Regions from separate parts of the Homo sapiens genome. Here all the other regions are linked to region 1. The links are contacts of gene promoters, found by promoter capture Hi-C in blood cells and fetal thymus (Javierre and others, 2016). All regions are on one chromosome and are shown on one strand. Each heading gives the region's core, a stretch centred on a gene start or on the middle of the fragment in contact. The rest is flanking DNA. Distances are from core to core; before and after follow the strand shown. Region 1 holds the start of CYB5R3 (cytochrome b5 reductase 3). Region 2 holds the start of TTLL1 (TTL family tubulin polyglutamylase complex subunit L1). Region 3 overlaps TTLL1 (TTL family tubulin polyglutamylase complex subunit L1). Region 4 overlaps PACSIN2 (protein kinase C and casein kinase substrate in neurons 2).

Region 1 (3,151 bases), core at 465-2,964:
AACACACAGCCCACCCCATCCCCTCAGAGCACCAGGAGCTCACATCTGGGTCCAAGACCCTACCAGGAGAGCAAGGCAAGAGAATGACGCTAAGGCCCAGCATGAGCCTACACAGAGAAGGTGCCCACTGTCTGTCAAATTCATCCATTCAACAAGTATTTAGGCTGCTCATCGTGGCTCACGCTTATAATCCCAGCACTTTGGGAGGCCAAGGTGGGAGGATGGCTTGAACCCAGGAGTTCCGGACCAGCCTGGGCAACATAGTGAAACCCGTCTCTACAAAAAAATGCAAAAATGGCCGGGCGCGGTAGTTCCCACCTGTAATCCCGGCACTTTGGGAAGCCGAGGCAGGTGGATCACCTGAGGTCGGAAGTTCGAGACCAGCCTCACCAACATGTTGAAACACCGTCTCTACTAAAAATACAAAATTAGGCCGGGCGCGGTGGCTCACGCCTGTAATCCCAGCACTTTGGGAGGCCGAGGCGGGCGGATCACGAGGTCAGGAGATCGAGACCATCCTCGCTAACACGGTGAAACCCCGTCCCTACTGAAAATACAAAAAATTAGCCGGGCGCGGTGGGGTGCCTGTAGTGCCAGCTACTCGGGAGGCTGAGAATGGCGTGAACCCTGGAGGCGGAGCTTGCATTGAGCCGAAATGGCGCCACTGCATTCCAGCCTGGGGGACAGGGCGAGACTCTGTCTCAAAAAAAAAAAAAAAAAAAAAAAAAAAAAGATTAGCTGGTTAGCCAGATGTGGTGGCACATGCCTGTAATTTCGGGAGGCTGAGGCAGGAGGATCTGTTGAACCCTGGAGGCGGAGTTTGCGGTGAGCCGAGATCGCGTCAATGCATACCAGCCTGGGCAACAAGAGCGAAACTGCGTCTCAAAAAAAAAAACAATTAGCCGGACGTGGTGGCATGTGCCCAGCTACTCAGGAGGTTGAGGCAGGAGGAACACTTGAGCCTGGGAGGTTGAGGCTAAAGTGAGCTGTGATCAGGCTCCTGCATTCCAGTCTGGGCAAGAGTGAGACCCTGCTTTACCAAAAAAAAAAAAAAAAAAAAAGGTATTTATTGAGCACCTACTATATGCTAGGCTCTGTGTGGCTAGGCTCTGGGGATGTACGGGACTTCAAACCAGATAGGGCCTTGCCCTCCGGGAGCGCACAGTCCACTGGGATGGGGTGGGAGTGGGGGAAACACGCAGGAGGCCTTCAGCTAAGTGGGACAAAGATCACTCCACAGTGGGACAATGGCGTGGGGAGCGGAGGCGCCGCCGGCGAGGAGGCTCCGGGCGGGCCGTGCTGAGACCGCAGCATTTAACCCGGCCCGAGGCAGCTGGGAACAGTGCTGCCCAGGGAACTACAAATTCAAAGGCCCGGGGAAGGGCCGCGCTGAGCAGCTGCAGGCACAGGCCCAGGCCAGGCCAGGCAGGACCGGCCCCTGCAGTCTCGGAGGCCGGGGGAAGATTCCGCCTCTTATTCTCGCTCCCATCCGGGGGGCGCCATCTTGCTTCCTTTATGGCGGCGAACGAGGCCCAGAGAGGCCACCGTCCCGCGCGGGGCAGCACAGCGGCGGGAGAGCTCGGAGCGCAGAGGGCCGCATCCCCAGTTCCCAGTCTCCATCCCCGGCAGAAGCAGGCGGAGCGACCCGGTCCCCGCCCCCGCGCCCGCCCCGCCCCGCGCGCCCGCCTGGCCCCTCGGCCCCGCCCCTGCTCCGGAGTGACGCGGGCCCGGGCGCGACGGTCTCGGCGGCGGCGGCGGCGGCGACAGAGCGAGCGCGGCGCGGGGCCACCATGGGGGCCCAGCTCAGCACGGTAGGCGGGGAGGGGGCGCCGGGGCCGCGGGGCGTCGCGAGGGACTGGGACCCGGCGGCGAGGGGGCGGGCTGGCCTGCGGGAGGTGACGCGGGACCCGGGCCGCACCCGGCCGCACCCACTTCGCCCGCCCAGCCCGCCGCGCCCCACCCCACCCCACAAGGGCCTGGGCGAGCTACGTGGTGACCGCTACTTACGCCCTGGCAGTCTGCAGCGGGGACCCAGCCCTCCTGCCCGGGGGGCGCGCCAGAGCCCAGCACCCGGGGGCACCTGGGCCCTGCCCTGGCCGCCGTGGGGCCTTGGCTGCTGGAGGGACCCGTGGTTGTGAGCGTGTGTGCCGCTGAGTGTGAGTGTGTGAGCGAGCGTGTGAATGGCTTGAGAGTGAATGTGTGTGTGAGTGTGACCGTGGGTGTGAAGGGCGGGCATGGAAACGTGTGATGGGGTGTGTGTGTGTGTACGGGAGTATGTGAATGGGCGATGTCACTGACTGCGACTGAACGTGTGTGTGTGTGCGATGTCACTATGTCAGAGGGTTTTGCACGTTTAGCAACAAGGAACAGAACCCGGATGACACGGGGGCATCCTCCCAATGCTCAGTGGGCCAGGCTCCCATCAAGGCCAGGCTCCCACTGACCCTGCAAGCTGTGCTGGGGACCTCACACTTTGCGGTGTCAGTGCTGTTTGCCCCATTTCACAGATGGGGAAATGCAAACTAGTCTTGGCCACCGTCCCACAACGCTGCCGCCGGAAGGAGCCTGCTCCATGGGGTTTCAAAGTCCACTCTGCTGCTGTCACTCCTGGGCTGGCCTAGAGCCACCTTCCCTTCCCCCCAGGCCACCTCCTCTCCCCAGTTTCTCAAAAGTTGACCATGGTGAGGCTGGAGGCTTGAGTCTGTGTGGACATGTGGAGGCTGCGGCTGCAGAGGGCAGCTCTCCTGTCAACTGTGACCCGCTAGGCGTGGGGAGGCTGGCACAGGAGGAATCAGCCCAGTGCTCCTCCACCTCCACCTCTACCTCTATGCCTGGCATCTGCCACTTGGAGGGCACCTGGGTCCTCCCTCCTTGGGGAGGACCTGGAGTCTCCTCCTTGGGGATCCAGGCAAAAGGCCTCTTGGCTTGGGTGGTTGCTAAGGAAAGTGTGGCCCAACCCAGAACTTCGGGATGTTCAGACCCCAGGCAACCTTGGCCAGGGTGAACCTGTGGGCATCACCCCAACCTCCATGCAACACCCGGCCCATTTTTCCCCAGAAAGCATCTGCCTCCTTTATTGTTGAAATGTCCTGCCTGTGTCTCTAAAGCTTCCCCTGGTCTCCACCCAACCCTTCCCTGCTGTTTTTGGTGG
Region 2 (3,151 bases), core at 203-2,702, 440 kb before region 1:
TGTTCTGTTGGCCAGGCTGTAGTGTAGTGGCGGGATCATAGCTCACTGCAGCCTCAATCTCCTAGGCTCAAGTGATCCACCTCAGCCTCCTGAGTAACTGAGTAGGACTGCTGGCTACGCCCCCATACCCGGCTGATTAAAAATATTTTTTCTTTTTTTTTTAGAAATGGGGTCTTGCTATATTGGCCAGGCTGGTCTGGAACTCCTGACCTCAAGTGATCCTCCCATCTTGGCCTCCCAAAGTACAGGGATTGCAGGCATGAGGCAACATGCTGGAAGGCTACAATGTTTATTGAACACTTTACTATGCCAGGCCCTAACCACGTCTTGCAAGCCTTCACTCATCTCCTGGGTTTAAGGTGAGAACACTGTAGTCGGAAGCCTTGGGACTTCTCAAGGCCTCACAACCAGACAGCAGCTGAAGGGTATGAATTGGCAATTTGGACTCCAGATAAGTGTTGGTTCCACTAGATGGTGCCAAAAGTAAATGATGATGCGCTGAATGTGCTCTGGGCCTGGGAGGCGGTTGTGTGGGAGATTATAGGAAGTGATGTTAGCAAAGCTCCAATCATCACTAAGAAAGCACACCACCACCCCTCCTGAGAGGCAGCAGCATGAATGGTCAGGTGTCCTGGGTTCAAAGCCAGACTCTGTCACTTACAAGTTGCACAAGTTTGCATAACTCTTTAAATTGATGAAATTAAAAATGAATAATTGTATAGAGAATTCGAGGTAACACAGGTCTATAACGAGAATAATAAACGTCTTTTTTTTTTTTTTTTGAGGCGGAGTCTTGTTCTGTCGCCCAGGCTTGAGTGCAGTGGCACGATCTTGGCTCACTGCAACCTCTGTCTCCCGGGTTCAAGCGATTCTCTTGCCTCAGCCTAGCCAGGATGGTCTCGATCTCCTGACCTCGCGACCCACCCGCCTCTGCCTCCCAAAGTGCTGGGATTACAGGCGTGAGCCACCGAGTCTGGCCCAGATAAACACTTTTTAAAAAAAATTATTTTATTTTTATGTTATTATTATTATTATTATTTGAGATGGAGTCTCGCTCTATCGCCCAGGCTGGAGTGCAGTGGCGCAACATCACCATTTCTTCAGATAAGGAAGCCGAGGTAGAAGGGGTAGGAGAGGCTAAACAGCGGATTGAGACCGAACCCAGGATTCGGACCTAATCATCACACCGCTCTACCTTTCTTTTTAGACTTAATCCCGTGCTCCAGACCCTTCTCAATCTCCTTTCTGGGCCCCGAGAGGGTGGACGGCCTGGCATTTCCTAGGATCCAAGCCCTGGGCATAGCGGCCGCCCGAGGTATGGAGCCCAAAGGAGCCCCAGGCAAGTCTGACTCCGGAAATAGTCGCAGCGCCGGCGGTCGCGTCCTGGGTTGCCAGGGCGCCGCCCTGGAAGTAGAGTGCAGCGCGGGGCGGGGCGGGCCGGTGCGCCTGGCAGTCGGCTGCGTACTCCTGCGAGCGCCGGAGAGGGGCTGGAGGCGGGGCGAGGGCGCGGCTCGAGGCATCCCTGCAGGGCGCTCCTCCGAGTCCCTCGGCGCTCTGAGCCCACAGGTGAGGTCCTGTCCCCCAGGCCGCCGCCTCCCGGGCACCGAGGGTGTGGCTGCGCGCGGGCTGGCGAGTGCGCATGGGTGAGAGAGTGTGGGCGCCAGTGTCTACGCGGCTGCGAAAATGCGGTTCAGATGCTGCTTGCCGGATCCGCGTCCTCCAGGAAGCCCGCGCTAACCACCGTGCCTTTCTCCGTCCGCTGAGTTCCTATGACTTACCTCGTGCTGTCCGACTGTTGCAATTGCATCATTATGTTTATTATTTGTTATCCCAGACTTTCATTGTTCCTACACGTTTCCCATTCGTTTGCAATCTGTGTTGTTTCTGTTGGCATCTTTTGCAGGGCGCAATGTACCTGTGGAGAGAACTCAGGGCAGGAGACAAGAGCCTTGTGTCTTCCCTCTAGATGACTGGACCAAGACATTTCCCCTCTCTGATTCCCTATCAGCTAAGAGGGCAGGGCGGGGTAGTCATCCTTTTCCATAGAGTAGCTGGGGCATTAGAGGAGATTAATTCTGGAAGTGAAAGTATCTTATCATTGTTAGCCCTTTTGGCATTTGCAAAGCAGGTTCTTTGCTCAGGAAACGTTTGATGAGCACATTATGGTGCCGGGTTGTGGCGGTACAAAAAGATGGGCCCCGGCCGGGCACGGTGGCTCACGCCTGTAATCCCAGCACTTTGGGAGGCCGAGGCGGGAGGATCACGAGGTCAGGAGATCGAGACCATCCTGGCTAACACGGTGAAACCCCGTCTATACTAAAAATACAAAAAAAAAAAAATTAGCCGGGCATGGTGGCGGGGGCCTGTAGTCCCAGCTACTCGGGAGGCTGAGGCAGGAGAATGGCGTGAACCCGGGAGGCGGAGCTTGCAGTGAGCCGAGATTGCGCCACTGCACTCCAGCCTGGGCGACAGAGCGAGATTCTGTCTCAAAAAAAAAAAAAAAAAAAAAAAAAAAAAAGATGGGCCCTTCTCTGCCCTCAAATTACAGACACTGGTAAGCAGTCACTGTGGAGCATGGTACTGTCACCCAGTGCGGGCGTGGAGATGGACAGTGACAATACCGCTGTGAACGAATGCCCTGCTCAACATGAAGTCATCACTGACATTGTTATTACTTTATTTATTTATTTATTTATTTTTAGACGGAGTCTTGCTTTGTTGCCCAGGCTGGAGTGCGGTCGCTCTCGGCTCACTGCAACCTCTGCCTCCTGGGTTCAAGCGATTCTCCTGCCTCAGCCTCCCATGTAGCTGTGATTACAGGCACGCGCCACCATGCCCCGCTAATTTTTTAAATTTTAGTAGAGATGGGGTTTCGCCATGTTGGCCAGGCTGGTCTCGAGCTCCTGACCTCAGGTGATCCGCCCACCTCGGCCTCCCAAAGTGCTGGGATTACAAGCGTGAGCCACTGTGCCTGGCCATATTCTTGGTTTTTTTTTTTTTTTTTTGAGACCGTCTCACTCTGTCACCCAGGCTGGAGTGTGCAGTGGTGCGATCTTGGCTCACTGCAACCTCTGCCTCCCGGGTTCAAGCAATCCTCCCACCTCAGCCTCCCAGATAGCTTGGATTACAGGCGCCCACCACCACGCCCGGC
Region 3 (3,151 bases), core at 199-2,698, 420 kb before region 1:
ACAGTGGTACAATCTCAGCTCACTGCAACCTCACGCCTCCCAGGTTCAAGCGATCTGCCTACCTCAGCCTCCCAAGTAGCTGGGATCACAGGCACCCACCATGCCTGGCTAATTTTTTTATTTTTAGTAGAGATGGGGTTTTACCATGTTGGCCAGGCTGGTCTCTAACTCTTGACCTCAAGTGATCCACCCACCTTGGCCTCCCAAAGTGCTAGTATTACAGGGGGTGAGCCACTGTGTGTGGCCTAAAAAAAAATTTTTTTTTTTTTAAGACGGGATCATGGCTCACTGCAACCTCAACCTCCTAGGCCCAAGCGATCCTCCCACCTCAGCCTCCTGAGTAGCTGAGACTATAGGTACACACGACCACACCTGGCTAATTTTTCTTTTTTGTAGAGGCAGGGTTTCATCATGTTGCCCAGGTTGATCTCAAATTCCCGGGCTCAAGTGATCTGCCTGCCTCAGCCTCCCAAAGTGCTGGGACTACAGGTGTCAGCCACCATGCCCGGCCATGCTTAAATCTAATTACACTTTGCTAGCCCCCAGATGGCCAGGCCCGAGGAGCATTTCCCTGAGTGGACTCCTGGGGACTGTCCTGCAGCTGCTTGCACTGTCCCCTGGGGCAGGGGGTGTGTCCTCCATGGATACACCCCACCCCCATTTCCTTCCTGATGACCCAGCCCCTCACAGTGAGAGGCCGGGAGCGTGTTGCCAGCTGACGAGATGCACCTTTGGTCTTTACCATCCATTTTTTTTCTAGTAGCTTGATTTTTTTTTTAATTTTTTTTTTTTTTGAGACAGTGTCTCGCTCTGTCTCCCAGGCTGGACTGCAGTGGTGCGATCTCAGCTCACTGCAACCTCCACGTCCCAGGTTCAAGCGATTCTCCTGCCTCAGCCTCCTGAGTAGCTGGGACTACAGGCACCCGCCACCACACCTGGCTAATTTTTGTATTTTTAGTAGAGACAGGGTTTCACCATGTTGGTTAGGCTGGTCTTGAACTCCTGACCTCGTGATCCTCCTGCCTCGGCTTCCCAAAGTGCTGGGATTACAGGCCTCCAGTAGCTTGATTTTTTTAGAGCAGTTTTAGGTTTACTGCACAATTGAAGAAGATACAGAGATTTTTTTTTTCCTATACCCCTTCCCCACACATGCACGGCCTCCCCCCTTATCAGCATCCCCTACCAGAATTGTTAAAGTTAGCAAACTGATTAGCTGGGTGTCGTGGCACATGCCTGTAGTCTCAGCTACTTGCCAGGCTGAGGTGAGACTATCACTTGAGCCCAGGAGACTGCAGTGAGCTGTGATCGCACCACTGCACTCCAGCCTGGGCAACACAGCAAGACCATCTCAAAAAAAAAAATTTGGCCATGTGTGTGGCACAAGCCTGTAATCCCAGCACTTTGGGAGGCCAAGGCAGGCGGATCACTTGAGGTCAGGAGTTTGAGACTAGCCTGGCCGACATGGCAAAATCCTGTCTCTACTAAAAATACAAAAATTAGCCAGGCATGGTGGCTGGCGTCTGTAATCCCAGCTACTCAGGAGGCTGAGGCAGGAGAATCATTTTAACCCAGGAGGTGGAGGTTGCAGTGAGCCAAGATCACGCCAGTGCACTCCAGCCTGGGTGACAGAGGAAGACTGTGTCTCAAAAATATATATATATAAATAAAAATTGGCAGACTGACACCAGCCCATCATCACCCAAAGGCCATAGTTCACATTAGGGTTTACTCTTAGTGTTGTCCATTTTGGGAGCTTAGACAAATGTATAGTGACATGGATCCACCATTATTTTATTTATTTATTTTTTGAGATGGAGTCTTGCTCTATTGCCCAGGCTGGAGTGCGGTGGCAGGATCTTGGTTCACTGCAAACTCTGCCTCCCGGGTTCAAGCGATTATCCTGCCTCAGCCTCTGGAGTAGCTGGAATTACAGGCACCCGCCCCCATGCCTGGCTATTTTTGTATTTTTAGTAGAGACAGGGTTTCACCATGTTGGCCAGGCTGGTCTCGAACTCCTGACCTCAGGTGATCCACCCGCCTCGGCCTCCCAAAGTGCTGGGATTACAGGCGTGAGCCACCAAGCTCGTCCAGATCCACCATCATAGTAACATACGGAGTAGTTTCACTGCCCTCAAAATCCTCTGTGCTCTGCCTGTTTATCCCTAGTCTGTGGCAACCACAGATCTTTTTACTGTCTTTATTTATTTATTTACTTATTTATTTATTTGAGATGGAGTCTTGCTCTGTCACCCAGGCTGGAGTGCAGTGGTGCCATCTCAGCTCACTGCAACCTCCACCTCTTGGGTTCAAGTGATTCTCCTGCCACAGCCTCCTGAGTATCTGGGACTACAGGCACACACCACCACACCGGGCTAATTTTTTTTCTTTTTAGCAGAGACGGGGTTTCACCGTGTTGACCAGGCTCGTCTTGAACTCCCGACCTGAAGTGATCCACCCGCCTCGCCTCCCAAAGTGCTGGGATTACAGGCGTGAGCCACCGCGCCCAGCCAAAACTCTTTAATTTTTTAATTTTAATGAAGTCCGGCTTATCAGTTATTCCTTTCTTGGATTGTGTCTTCGTTATTGCATCTTTTACCATCTAATTTTTACTTTCTCTGCCATGTTTAGGTTTGTGTCTCAATCTAATAAGGAAGCCTACGTGATCTCTCTCTATATTAACAACCCGTTACTAATTGGCGGGAGGAAGTTCGACCTGCGCTTGTACGTTCTGGTGTCCACGTACCGTCCACTGCGCTGTTACATGTAAGCGTCCCTAAGGTTTTGGTTCCCTCTTGATTGTGTTTTCACCCAAAACGTCTTTCTTCTTAGCACCATTGTGAGGTTTCATAAAACAGTGCATGTGCGGTGCCTGGCACGGGGCAGGGATTGAGGGAAGTAAGAGCAGTCAGGCCCGATGCCGATGTGAGTCGTGTAAATCACACACACAAAAGCAGCTCTTTTTAGAGAATGAAGTGGTGTCTTTTCTTTTTGTTTCTCCTCAGAGTTTGAATTAATCTACATTCCCTCCTAGGTACAAGCTTGGGTTTTGCCGGTTCTGCACAGTGAAATACACCCCGAGTACCAGTGAGCTGGACAACATGTTCGTTCATCTCACCAACGTCGCCATCCAGAAACACGGGGTGAGTGTGTC
Region 4 (3,151 bases), core at 332-2,831, 320 kb before region 1:
AGAAGCACATTCAAAGCCATTTAAAAGCACGGTTGAGCTGGGTGCAGTGGCATGCATCTGTAATCCAGGTACACAGGAGGCTGAGGCGGGAACATGGCTTCAGCCCAGGAGTTGAAGTCCAGCCTGGGCAACATAAGAAAAAAAAAAGTAAAAGCATGGCTGACTTTTCTTAGAGTGAGGCAGTAGACTGTGTGCTTCCTGGCGTGGTGTCCAGGTCGGAAAGCCCAGAGGTGGAATTCTCCTTTGGCCACTTTGGGCCCATCCTGGTGCAGAGCTACAACTTCAGGTTTCCTAGTGCACAGTTCTGATCATATCTTTTTTTCCTAGATGTATAAGGAACTATTTTTCTAAAATGGTGGTGGTTTAAAATATATATATATATATTTAGTATTTATTGATGATTCTTGGGTGTTTCTCGGAGAGGGGGATTTGGCAGGGTCATAGGACAATAGTGGAGGGAAGGTCAGCAGATAAACATGTGAACAAGGGTCTCTGGTTTTCCTAGGCAGAGGACCCTGCGGCCTTCCGCAATGTTTATGTCCCTGGGTACTGGAGCTTAGGGAGTGGTGATGACTCTTAAAGAGCATGCTGCCTTCAAGCATCTGTTTAACAAAGCACATCGTGCACCGCCCTTAATCCATTTAACCCTGAGTGGACACAGCACATGTTTCAGAGAGCACGGGATTGGGGGCAAGGCCATAGATCAACAGCGTCCCAAGGCAGAAGAATCTTTCCTAGCACAGAACAAAATGGAGTCTCCTATGTCTACTTCTTTCCACACAGACACAGTAACAATCCGACTTCTCTTTCTTTTCCCCACATTTCCCCCCCCCATTGGACAAAACCGCCATTGTCATCATGGCCCGTTCTCAATGAGCTGCTGGGTACACCTCCCAGACGGGGTGGCGGCCGGGCAGAGGGGCTCCTCACCTCCCAGACGGGGCGGCCGGGCAGAGGCACCCCCCACCTTCCAGACGGGGCGGCGGCCGGGTGGAGGCTGCCCCCCACCTCCCGAACGGGGCTGCTGGCTGGGCGGGGGCTGCCCCCCACCTCCCTCCCGGACGGGGCTGCTGGCCGGGCGGGGGCTGCCCCCCACCTCCCTCCCGGATGGGGCGGCTGGCCGGGCGGGGGCTACCCCCCACCTCCCGGACGGGGCGGCTGCCGGACAGAGATGCTCCTCACTTCCCAGACAGGGCGGCTGCCCGGCGGAGGGGCTCCTCACTTCTCAGACGATGGGCGGCCGGGCAGAGACGCTCCTCACTTCCCAGACATGGTGGCGGTTGGGCAGAGACACTCCTCACTTCCCAGACTGGGTGGCCGGGCAGAGGGGCTCCTCACATCCCAGACGATGGGCTGCCAGGCAGAGACGCTCCTCACTTCCCAGATGGGGTGGCGGCCGGGCAGAGGCTGCACTCTTGGCACTTTGGGAGGCCAAGGCAGGCGGCTGGGAGGTGGGGGTTGTAGCGAGCCGAGATCACGCCACTGCACTCCAGCCTGGGCAACATAGAGCACTGAGTGAGCGAGACTCCGTCTGCAGTCCTGGCACCTCGGGAGGCTGAGGCGGGCAGATCACTTGCGGTCGGGAGCTGGAGACCAGCCCGGCCAACACGGCGAAACCCCGTCTCCACCAAAAAATACAAAAACCAGTCAGGCGTGGCGGCGCGCGCCTGCAATCCCAGGCGCTTGGCAGGCTGAGGCAGGAGAATCAGGCAGGGAGGCTGCAGTGAGCCGAGATGGCGGCAGTACAGTCCAGCTTTGGCTCGGCATCAGAGGGAGACCGTGGAGGGAGAGGGAGAGGGAGAATATTTTTATCATGGTGGTTTGTAATGCCACCTCCTTTCATTGTTTTTAGCTTAGCGTTAGCCTGCAGACCCTCAGAAACTGCTGAGTGGTGAGAGGTGGTGCAGGGGTAGGCTGTAGCAGAGAGGGCTGTGGAGAGGCTGGGGGCAGGGCAGGGTGGTGCAGGGAGCCTGGGTCGCTGTCTGACCGCACAGCTGTGGGTGGCGTGGGGAGGCGCTGCAGGCCAGCCTCCCATCTCATGGTCAGCACTGCTTGTTACCACAAGCACTCCATATCTGGTGGTGCACTGCCATGGAGCACCTCGGGTGACATCAGCTTACACGGGGCCCTGCCTTCCTTTCCAGGTGCTTGCTTACTTAAAGATTTTAACAAATCATTTGATTTCTTTAGGCTTCATCTTCCTTGGCTAAATTTTAAAAAGAAGACCACATTGTCCCTGACTCCTTTTTGCAAAGGACGTAATGAATGTTCGTTAAACTTTTGTATTATTATTTCTATAATAAACTTTTTATTTTACAAGAATTCTATATGTGCAGAAAAGTTGCAAAACTAATAGAGTTCCTGTCTACCTTTTGCCTGACTTTCTCTAATGTTAACATTTTATGTAACCATAGCTTATTTTTTGAAATTAAGAAATTAACATTGATGCAGTATTACTGAATAAACTATGGACTTTCTTTGGATTTCACCAGTTTTCCCACTGATGTTTTCTTGCAGTTCTAGGATCCCATCCAGGTCCTTGATGATTTTTCCTAGTATTAGATTGGTGGATGAATTTGGGGAGAGTCCCACAGAGGTGAAGTGCCCTTTTCATTACATCATCTCAGGAGGCACCTGATACTGCCATGACTCACCACCGTGATGTTAACCTTGCGGGTTTACTTTAGTCGTTCTCCTTTTTAAATGTGATTCAGGTGGCACTGGTTCCCCAAAAGATTGCTGATCCCTTCAGGCCAGGACCCTGCTCTGCTTGCTTTGTGCCTCTTCCCAGCGTGAGGACTTGGGCTGTGGTGCCAGTGTCGAAGGGGGCATGCCAGGTCAGGTGGAGATGCATTTGGGTTCTGTGATTTTGTGAGCATTCTACAGTTTTCACATCACAGGTGAAACAGGATTGGCCATGTGTTGATACTTGTTGAAACGGGGGGTCATTCTAGTTTCTTTTCTTTTTTTTTTCTTTTTCTTTTTTTTTTTAAGGGCCAGCATCTCACCCTGTCACTCAGGCTAGAGTGCAGTGGTGGGATCATGATTCATTGCAGCCTCACCCTCCTGAGTAGCTGGGACCACAGCTGTGCACTATCAAGCCCAGCTTAAAAATTTTTCGTAGAGATGGGTTCTTTCCATGTTGCCCAGG

Evidence for each region. The method cuts DNA at HindIII sites, captures the fragments that hold promoters and counts their contacts. A CHiCAGO score of 5 or more calls a contact.
Region 2: the fragment with the promoter of TTLL1 here is called in contact with the fragment with the promoter of CYB5R3 in region 1 in 2 of 17 cell types (M0 macrophages and M1 macrophages); the score reaches 6.5 in M0 macrophages.
Region 3: a fragment that was not itself captured here is called in contact with the fragment with the promoter of CYB5R3 in region 1 in 1 of 17 cell types (endothelial precursors); the score reaches 5.0 in endothelial precursors.
Region 4: a contact is called between a fragment that was not itself captured here and the fragment with the promoter of CYB5R3 in region 1, in 3 of 17 cell types (M2 macrophages, M0 macrophages and naive B cells). The highest score is 6.5, in M2 macrophages.

Annotation. Positions count from the first base shown.
Region 1 is chr22:42,647,955-42,651,105 of GRCh38, reverse strand. CYB5R3 (cytochrome b5 reductase 3) reads left to right here and starts at 1,714. Exons shown (of 9, transcript NM_000398.7): 1 at 1,714-1,811. The coding sequence starts at 1,791. RefSeq lists silencers at 1,234-1,333, 1,644-1,833, 1,854-2,203 and an enhancer at 726-1,539. The HindIII fragment of the contact is 5,222 bases long and covers 1-3,109 here.
Region 2 is chr22:43,087,692-43,090,842 of GRCh38, reverse strand. It overlaps TTLL1 (TTL family tubulin polyglutamylase complex subunit L1), which reads left to right and starts at 1,452. Exons shown (of 11, transcript NM_012263.5): 1 at 1,452-1,566. RefSeq lists silencers at 478-537, 1,286-1,580, 1,345-1,684 and an enhancer at 1,286-1,580. The HindIII fragment of the contact is 9,359 bases long and covers 1-3,151 here.
Region 3 is chr22:43,063,802-43,066,952 of GRCh38, reverse strand. TTLL1 (TTL family tubulin polyglutamylase complex subunit L1) reads left to right here. Exons shown (of 11, transcript NM_012263.5): 6 at 2,629-2,763; 7 at 3,032-3,140. Among named protein-coding and RNA genes, the nearest start is that of TTLL1, 24 kb to the left of the region's middle. The HindIII fragment of the contact is 3,184 bases long and covers 1-3,040 here.
Region 4 is chr22:42,969,745-42,972,895 of GRCh38, reverse strand. All of the region lies in intron 1 of PACSIN2 (protein kinase C and casein kinase substrate in neurons 2), which reads left to right. Among named protein-coding and RNA genes, the nearest start is that of PACSIN2, 44 kb to the left of the region's middle. RefSeq lists an enhancer at 1,536-2,523. The HindIII fragment of the contact is 4,275 bases long and covers 1-3,151 here.